2 separate regions of the Homo sapiens genome follow, and region 2 is linked to region 1. The links are contacts of gene promoters, found by promoter capture Hi-C in human tissues and cell types (Jung and others, 2019). All regions are on one chromosome and are shown on one strand. The core of a region is centred on a gene start or on the middle of the fragment in contact, and the rest is flanking DNA. Distances in the headings are between cores, read along the strand shown.

What was found. Contacts are between HindIII fragments. The study calls those that stand out against the background at their distance.
Region 2: a fragment that was not itself captured here is called in contact with the fragment with the promoter of ZNF439 in region 1 in 3 of the 25 tissues and cell types used here (bladder, mesenchymal stem cells and pancreas).

Annotation. Positions count from the first base shown.
Region 1 is chr19:11,846,402-11,850,915 of GRCh38, forward strand. It overlaps ZNF439 (zinc finger protein 439), which reads left to right and starts at 2,325. Exons shown (of 4, transcript NM_001348719.2): 1 at 2,325-2,529. The coding sequence starts at 2,467. The HindIII fragment of the contact is 2,018 bases long and covers 1,995-4,012 here.
Region 2 is chr19:11,905,600-11,910,113 of GRCh38, forward strand. It overlaps ZNF69 (zinc finger protein 69), which reads left to right. Exons shown (of 4, transcript NM_001364730.1): 4 at 1-1,097. The coding sequence ends at 499. Among named protein-coding and RNA genes, the nearest start is that of ZNF700, 17 kb to the right of the region's middle. The HindIII fragment of the contact is 5,350 bases long and covers 15-4,514 here.

The DNA of each region.
Region 1 (4,514 bases), core at 1,075-3,574:
AATGGAAATTCAAAGGGAGAACATCTAATGTTCAAGTTGATGTCTATAGAGCAGTTAACGGGAACTATCATTTAGGGTCTGTGGGATTCTAGGACACTAGGTATGAAACAAATATGAGGAAGGTCAGAGAACAAGCTGACTTAATGATTAATGCTGAAGGTGCTGCCAGCTTGGTTTAAGTTTTCCTCCTCCCTTCCTCCCTGATGAATTTGATAAAGTTTAAAGGGATGGTTTCACCAGGGGCCTTTTACATTGACAGCAAGGAGGTCATCCGCCTGGTAAATCCTCAGTAGTCCAAGCCTCTTACATGGCTAGAATGATCCAGTCCATAAGGAAACGTCACCACCCTCTGTGTTTTACAATTAGACCATCCAAGGGGGTCAGGGTTTCCCCAGGGAATTTGGTGGGATTTTTTTTTTTTTGAGACCGTGTCTTGCTGAAGTACAGTAGCCTGATCAAAGCTCACAGCAGCCTCAAACTTTGGGGCTCGAGTAATCCTCCTGCCTCAGGCTCCTGAGTAGCTGAGACTAAGGGTACACACCACCTCTCCAGGCTAATAAAAAAAAAATTATGGAGATGGGAGTGTCTCACTTCACTGCTCAGGGTGGTCTTCAACTTCGGGCTTCAAGTGATCCTCCCACTTTGGCCTCCTAAAATGTTGGGATTGCAGGTGTAAGCCATGGCACCCGGCCTCCCAGGCTGTTGTTGAAAGGTCTTTGCAATCTCTAAGAGTTCTGCAGCAGTTTATTCCCTGACAGTGAGAGTCTCATCCTTTCACCCCATTTTGCAGCAGTAGTTGGGTGTTCACTTTTCTTTCCATAAGGAAGCGAGCTTGCCAGTGACCCTCATCCCCCTCCTCATCGATGACTTCTTTGTCATCAGAGCCTTCCTCTTCATAAATTCCCACGGAATCCAAGTTTTCACGTCCCAAATTATGATAGCCACAGGCCCTCACCAGCTGCCATAGCACCCCATTTCATGGAAGCCACCTGACTCTTCTTTGAGCATCCTGTCCCAGGAGCCCCCATCTGTGCTCTCCCGGGCTCCAGGCCCTAGAGCCGCGCTGCTGCAGAGCCCAGTTCCCAGGGCTGCTCCCTCCACGTATCCACATCCATCTCCAGCTTTCCACCCTTTCTCTGACCAGACAGGCCTGGAGGTGCTGCAGTGTCAGTGACCGTGGGTCCCTCCGCTGCCACCTCCACCGCGATCTGGAAGTCTTTTAAATGTACTTAAGTTATCTTAGAATTTTCCTTCCCCACTTTATACATAAACATAGGAGGAGAGCAGGGACTCTGCTGGTGTCTTATTCACACAATGGGATTGAGGGTGTTTGTGTCATGGAACTGATCAATGGGGTGAGAAGTAGCTGAATAACCTGCAGGGGCAGCAGAGCCCGAGGCCAGTGACTCCACGCTGAGGCCAGTCTGGAGCCTGCAAAGGAAGGGAAAGGAGCTTTTCCTGGGGGCTTCCTGGGCAGCCCGCCCTCCCCTACAGGTGGCCTCCAGCTGCTCAGAGCAGCTCCAGAAGGAGTGTGGATTCCGAGAAGCTGTAGGGCCCTGGAAAGCAGAAGACCTTCGTGCAGACGCATTTGTGGGGTTCTGTCCTTTCTGGTGTTGTACCTCTGGAGCCTGGGGCTGTCTTCTGGGCAGGGTTTGGGGTTTGACATACATGGGGTCGCTGGAGTCAGAGTTATTTGTATATATAAAGAAAATGTGTGAAAATCAGGCTAGAGACACAATTGTTTGGTGGCGTCACCTGGATAAAAGGTTTATGAGGTTGACAGTTTATTTAGGTCCGAAGCTTAACCCCAGGTGAGAGTTTCCTGCAGGTGAAAATGAAGATCTGGAAGGACGGAGCATTTTCATACTGTGAGGAGGGGATGGGGGTGTGTGAGCAAGTCTTGGCCATGCCTCATCCCCAATTCCGGCCCGCTCGAGGAAATATGCCTCTCCTCCTGGTGCAGTCTTGCCTGGCCTGGTCTCGGTTCCCCTGCTGCTCTGAGGCAGGAGATGGCTCCTGTGGACACTGAGTCTGAAATTCCCTGCACACTCCTGTGACCCCGTGCAGAACGAAGGAGCGGGGACAGTCCTTTGAGTGAGGAAGACGCTAGTGTTCTCTTCTAACAATAGCAAGTTTGGCTGAAATGCAACTATCCAATAACCCGAGTGCAGGAAGCAGCTCGTGTAAGCTTAGAGAAGCTGTTGCTAGAATCTGTCAGTCTGGCTCCGCAGGGCCTGATACCCAGGGCTTCCGCTGTCACTTAGACGTGGGGGGCGGGGCCGAACATTCCATCCAATCAGAGGCACTGGCTCGGGGCCCTGCCCACTGTGCATCCAGGCACGGAGGATGTTGCATTCCTGCCGTCACCTTTGTCGCTGCGAGGGCGGCGGTTGGGATCTGGCCTTTCCAGCCCCGAGAGGGACCTAGTGCCTCTACCCAGATTTCTGTCGCTCTGTCACCTGCGCTATGCCCTGCTTTACTCACAGGAGCTGTAGAGAGGACCCCGGTACATCTGAAAGCCGGGAAATGGTGCGTGTGCTGGCCGGGAGTGGTGCGATGGGGGAGGGGCTGCCTGGAACTGGCGGGACCCGGGCCTCCCTGTGGGCGACTCCGGGGTCTGGGACCGAGTCCTCCTAGAGCTGCTCGGCCCTCGGTCCCCGCGGCCGCTGGATGTGGGTGGGCCGGCAGCCGGGACTCCGGGCGTCCTGTCCCGTCCCTGCCCGTCGACTGCGGCCTTGGCCCCGAAGCCCTTTTGTGCAGCTCCGCGCCCGCAGCCCGACGCCCCAGCTTGTGCGGGGGCCACGGGAGGGTCATGCGCGGATTTCGACTCGGGTGTGGATTTCGTCCGTAGGAGGAGCAGCGGTCTGTGGGGCCCACAGCCTCCACTTTCTCCTGTTAAAAATTATACTGAGGTACGTTAACAAAAAGTTCATTTGAGGAAACAGCCATTCACGAATGAGAAACACCCGGTCCTGGCTTGTGGTTTGTCAACGGAAAAAAAACAGACTATGTAAAATACAGAAGTGTATTCAGAGCCGAGTAGGAGAGACCTTGGCCGAGGGAAACACAACCCCAAGCAGCCTGGAGTAAGTGGTCCGGAGGCGGCTCAGGACAGTTTGGTTTTATTCATTTCAGAGAGACAGGAATTGCAGGGAAAATGATGGATCAAGGCTGGAAGGTGTAAATTCCATTGGCAGAAAGGGTGGGACCTGTGGAAGGGGGGTTAGGAGGCACAGGTGGTTGAGGGATTCTGTAGGTGGCAGCTGGTTGAGAGTGTGAAGCTTTGTCTAAAGTTTGGAGGAGGTAGGAAGGAATGCTGAAGGAAGGGGGTCTGTTATCTGCCACTTCATTCCATCCCAGCCAAAAAACAGTCCTGTTTCTCTAGATTTTATGAATTCTAAGACGTAACTTTACCTTTGCCTTGCGTGGCCTTAGGTCTTGTTTGTAATTTGGTATCTTGTTGCCACAAGGAGTCTGTTTTTCCAGTCAGAGAATGTCTGTTTTTACATGAATGTGCGTCAGTTGCTGCATGTAAACTCCTAAAGGGAGAGGGTATAAGGAGACCTGTCTCACCTCCCATCCTGTCATACAGAGGCACTCAATTTTCAGGGTGTTTTGGGGGTTCCCTTGGCCAAGAGCCAGTCACTTCACTTAGCTGGGAAGGTACTTTGTTTGTTTTTGTTTTTGTTTGAGACGGAGTCTCCTTCTGTCGCCCAGGCTGGTGTGCAATGGCTCGATCTCGGCTCACTGCAACCTCTGCCTTCTGGGTTCAAGGGATTCTCCTGCCTCAGCCTCCTGAGTAGCTGGGATTACAGGCACGCACCACCACCCCCAGCTAATTGTTGTATTTTTAGTAGAGATGGGGTTTCACCATGTTGGCCAGGCTGTTCTCAAACTCCTGACCTCAAGTGATCCACCCCCCTCGGCCTCCCAAAGTGCTGGGATTACAGATGTGAGCCACATCGCCATGCCAGAAGATATGTTTTTATTTTTGTTTTACATGTTTAAGGCTAGGCTTTTATAAGGTACATGAGGAGACAAACCAGATAAATGCTTGATTGGTTGCAGAGATGCAGTCGCCTTATTTGGACTTGTCAACCGGAAATAATCAAAAGGTTCAGATTTCAGTTGGAAGAGTTTATTCAAGCAGAAAGATAGCAATGACCAAAACACAGACTCCAGAAAAATGGACTCAGTACTCCAAAATTGGAAGTTATGTTCTTGCTTATATTACTGAAAAAAGAGGTCCTGATCAGACCCCAAGAGAGTTCTTGGATCTCACACAGGAAGGAATTCAAGACGAGTCACAAAGTGCAGTGCGAAGAGAGTTTATTGAAAGCTACTCTGGGCCAGCATGATGGCTTAGGCCTGTAATCCAAGCACTTTGGGAGGCCCAGGCGAGAGGATCACTTGAGCTCAGGAGTTCGAGACCAGCCTGGGCAACTTAGCGAAACCCCGTCTCTTCCAAAAATAAGAAAAATTAGCCGGATGTGGTGGCCTGTGCCTGTAGTCTC
Region 2 (4,514 bases), core at 1,440-3,939, 60 kb after region 1:
TTCCCTTCGTTATCATGAAAGGATTCACACTGGAGAGAAACCCTATGAGTGTAAGCAATGTGGGAAGGCCTTCAGATCTTCCTCACACCTTCAATTGCATGGTAGGACTCACACTGGAGAGAAGCCCTATGAATGTCAGGAATGTGGGAAAGCCTTCAGATCTATGAAGAACCTTCAAAGTCATGAAAGGACACAAACACACGTAAGAATACACTCTGGAGAAAGACCTTATAAATGTAAGCTATGTGGGAAAGGCTTTTATTGTCCCAAATCATTGCAAAGACATGAAAAAACTCACACTGGAGAGAAACTCTATGAATGCAAGCAATGTGGTGAAGCCTTCAGTAGTTCCAGTTCCTTTCGATACCATGAAAGGACTCACACTGGAGAGAAACCCTATAAATGCAAGCAATGTGGGAAAGCCTTCAGAGCTGCCTCAGTCCTTCGAATGCATGGTAGGACTCACCCTGAAGATAAACCCTATGAGTGTAAGCAATGAGGGAAAGCCTTCAGATCTGCCTCACACCTTTGAATGCATGGTAGGACACACAATCAAGAGAAACCATGAATGTAAAGAATGTGGGAAACCCTTCAGGTCTGCCCAGAACCTTCGAATTCAGTAAAGGACACAAGCACACATAAGAATGCATTCTGGATAGCTGAACAAAAGGCAGCAGAAACTTCTGCAGACTTAAATGTCCCTGTCTGACAGCTTTGAAGAGAGTAGCAGTCCTCCCAGCATGGAGTTTGAGATCTAAGAATGGACAGTCTGCCTCCTCAAGTGGGTCCCTGATCTCCAAGTAGCCTAACTGGGAGGCACTTCCCAGTAGGGGCCAACTGACACCTCATACGGCCGTGTGCCCCTCTGTGACGAAGCTTCCAGAGGAAGGATCAGGCAACAACATTTGCCGTTCTGCAATATTTGCTGTTCTGCAGCCCCTGCTGGTGATACCCAGGCAAACAGGGTCTGGAGTGGACCTCAAGCAAAATCCAACAGACCTCAGCTGAGGGTCCTGACTGTTAGAAGGAAAACTAACAAACAGAAAGGACAACCACACCAAAACCCATCTGTACATCACCATCATCAAAGACCAAAAGTAGATAAAACCACAAAGATGGGGAGAAACCAGAGCAGAAAAGCTGAAAATTCTAAACATCAGAGCGCCTCTTCTCCTCCAAAGGAACGCAGCTCCTCGCCAGCAATGGAACAAAGCTGGACTTTGACTTTGACGAGCTGAGAGAAGAAGGCTTCAGATGATCGGTAATAACAAACTTCTCCAAGCTAAAGGAGGATGTTCGAACCCATCACAAAGAAGCTAAAAACCTTGAAAAAAGATTAGACAAAATGGCTAACTAGAATAAACAGTGTAGAGAAGACCTTAAATGACCCGATGGAGCTGAAAACCATGGCACGAGAACTATGTGATGCATGCACAAGCTTCAGTAGCTGATTCAATCAAGTGGAAGAAAAGGTATCAGTAATTGAAGATCAAATGGATGAAATGAAGTGAGAAGAGAAGTTTAGAGAAAAAAGAGTAAAAAGAAATGAAAAAGCCTCCAAGAAATATGGGACTATGTGAAAAGACCAAATCTATGTCTGATTGGTGTACCTGAAAGTGACAGGGATGGAACCAAGTTGGGAAACACTCTTCAGGATATTATTCAGGAGAACTTCCCCAACCTAGCAAGGCAGACCAACATTCAAATTCAGGAAATACAGAGAACGCCACAAAGATACTCCTCGAGAGGAGCAACTCCAAGACACATAATTGTCAGATTCACCAAAGTTGAAATGAAGGAAAAAATGTTAAGGGCAGCCAGAGAGAAAGGTCGGGTTACCCACAAAGGGAAGCCCGTCAGACTAACAGCGGATCTCTTGGCAGAAACTCTACAAGCCAGAAAAGAGTGGGGGCCAATATTCAACATTCTTAAAGGAAAGAATTTTCAACCCAGAATTTCATATCCAGCCATACTAAGCTTCATAAGTGAAGGAGAAATAAAATCCTTTACAGATTCAAATGCTGAGAGATTTTGTCACCACCAGGCCTGCTGTAAAAGATCTCCTGAAGGAAGCACTAAACATGGAAAGGAACAACCGGTACCAGCCACTGCAAAAACATGCCAAATTGTAAAGACCATTGAGGCTAGGAAGAAACTGTATCAACTAACGAGCAAAATAACCAGTTAACATCATAATGACTGGATCAAATTCACACATAACAATATTAACCTTCAATGTAAATGGGCTAAATGCTCCAATTAAAAGACACAGACTGGCAAATTGGATAAAGAATCAAGACCCATCAGTGTGCTGTATTCAGGAGACCCATCTCACGTGCAGAGACATACATAGGCTCAAAATAAAGGGATGGAGGAAGATCTACCAAGCAAATGGAAAACAAACAAAAAAAGCAGGGGTTGCAATCCTAGTCTCTGATAAAACAGACTTTAAACCAACAAAGATCAAAAGAGACAAGGCCATTACATAAAGGTAAAGGGATCAATTCAACAAGAAGAGCTAACTATCCTAAATATTTATGCACCCAATACAGGAGCACTGAGATGCATAAAGCAAGTCCTTAGAGACCTACAAAGAGACTTAGACTCCCACACAATAATAATGGGAGACTTTAACATCCCACTGTCAACATTAGACAGATCAATGAGACAGAAAGTTAACAAGGATATACAGGAATTGAACTCAGCTCTGCACCAAGAGGACCTAATAGACATCTACAGAACTCTCCACCCCAAATCAACAGAATATACATTCTTCTCAGCACCACATCACACTTATTCCAAAATTGACCACATAGTTGGAAGTAAAGCACTCCTCAGCAAATGTAGAAGAATAGAAATTATAACAAACTGTCTCTCGGACCACAGAGCAATCAAACTAGAACTCAGGATTAAGAAACTCACTCTAAACCACTCAAATACATGGAAACTGAACAACCTGCTCCTGAATGACTACTGGGTACATAACAAATGAAGGCAGAAATAAAGATGTTCTTTGAAACCAATGAGAACAAAGACACAACATACCAGAATCTCTGGGACACATTTAAAGCAGTTTGTAGAGGGAAATTTATAGCACTAAATGCCCACAGGAGAAAGCAGGAAAGATGTAAAATTGACACCCTAACATCACAATTAAAAGAACTAGAGAGGCAAGAGCAAACACATTCAAAAGCTAGCAGAAGGCAAGAAATAACTAAGATCAGAGCAGAACTGAAGGAGACAGAGACAGAAAAAACCCTTCAAAAAATCAGTGAATCCAGGAGCTGTTTTTTTGAAAAGATCAACAAAATTGATAGACCGCCAGCAAGACTAATAAAGAAGAAAAGAGAGAAGAATCAAATAGATGCAATAAAAAATGATAAAGGGGATATCACCACCGATCCCACAGAAATACAAACTACCATCAGAGAGTACTATAAATACCTCTATGGAAATAAACTAGAAAATCTAGAAGAAATGGATAAATTCCTGGACACATACACCCTCCCAAGACTAAACCAGGAAGAAGTCGAATCCCTGAATAGACCAATAACAGGCTCTGAAATTGAGGCAATAATTAATAGACTACCAACCAAAAAAAGTCAAGGACCAGATGGATTCACAGCTGAATTCTACCAGAGGTACAAAGAGGAGCTAGTACCATTCCTTCTTAAACTATTCCAATCAATAGAAAAAGAGGGAATCCTCCCTAACTCATTTTATGAGGCCAGCAACATCCTGATACCAAAGCCTGGCAGAGACACAACAAAAAGAATTTTAGACCAATATACCTGATGAACATCGATGCAAAAATCCTCAATAAAATACTGGCAAACCAAATCCAGCAGCACATCAAAAAGCTTATCCACCACGATCAAGTTGGCTTCATCCCTGGGATGCAAGGCTGATTCAACATATGCAAAGCAATAAACGTAATCCATCATATAAACAGAACCAAAGACAAAAACCACAAGATTATCTGAATAGATGCAGAAAAGGCCTTCGACAAAATTCCACAGCCCTTTATGCTAAAAACTCTCAATAAACTGGGTATTGATGGGATGTATCTCAAAATAATAAGAGCTATTTATGACAAACCTACAGTCAATATCATATACTGAATGGGCAAAAACTGGAAGCATTCCCTTTGAAAACTGGCACAAGACAGGGATGCCCTCTCTCACCACTCCTATTCAACATAGTGTTGGAAGTTCTGGCCAGGGCAATCAGGAAGGACAAAGAACTAAAGGGTATTCAAGTAGGAAAAGAGGAAGTCAAATTGTCCCTGTTTGCAGATGACATGATTGTATATTTAGAAAACCCTATCATCTCAGCCCAAAATCTCCTTAAGCTGATAAGCAACTTCAGCAAAGTCTCAGGATACAAAATCAATGTGCAAAAATCACAAGCATTCCTATACACCAACAACAGACAAACAGAGAGCCAAATCATGAGTGAACTCCCATTCACAATTGCTTCAAAGAGAATAAAATACCTAGGAATCCAACTTACAA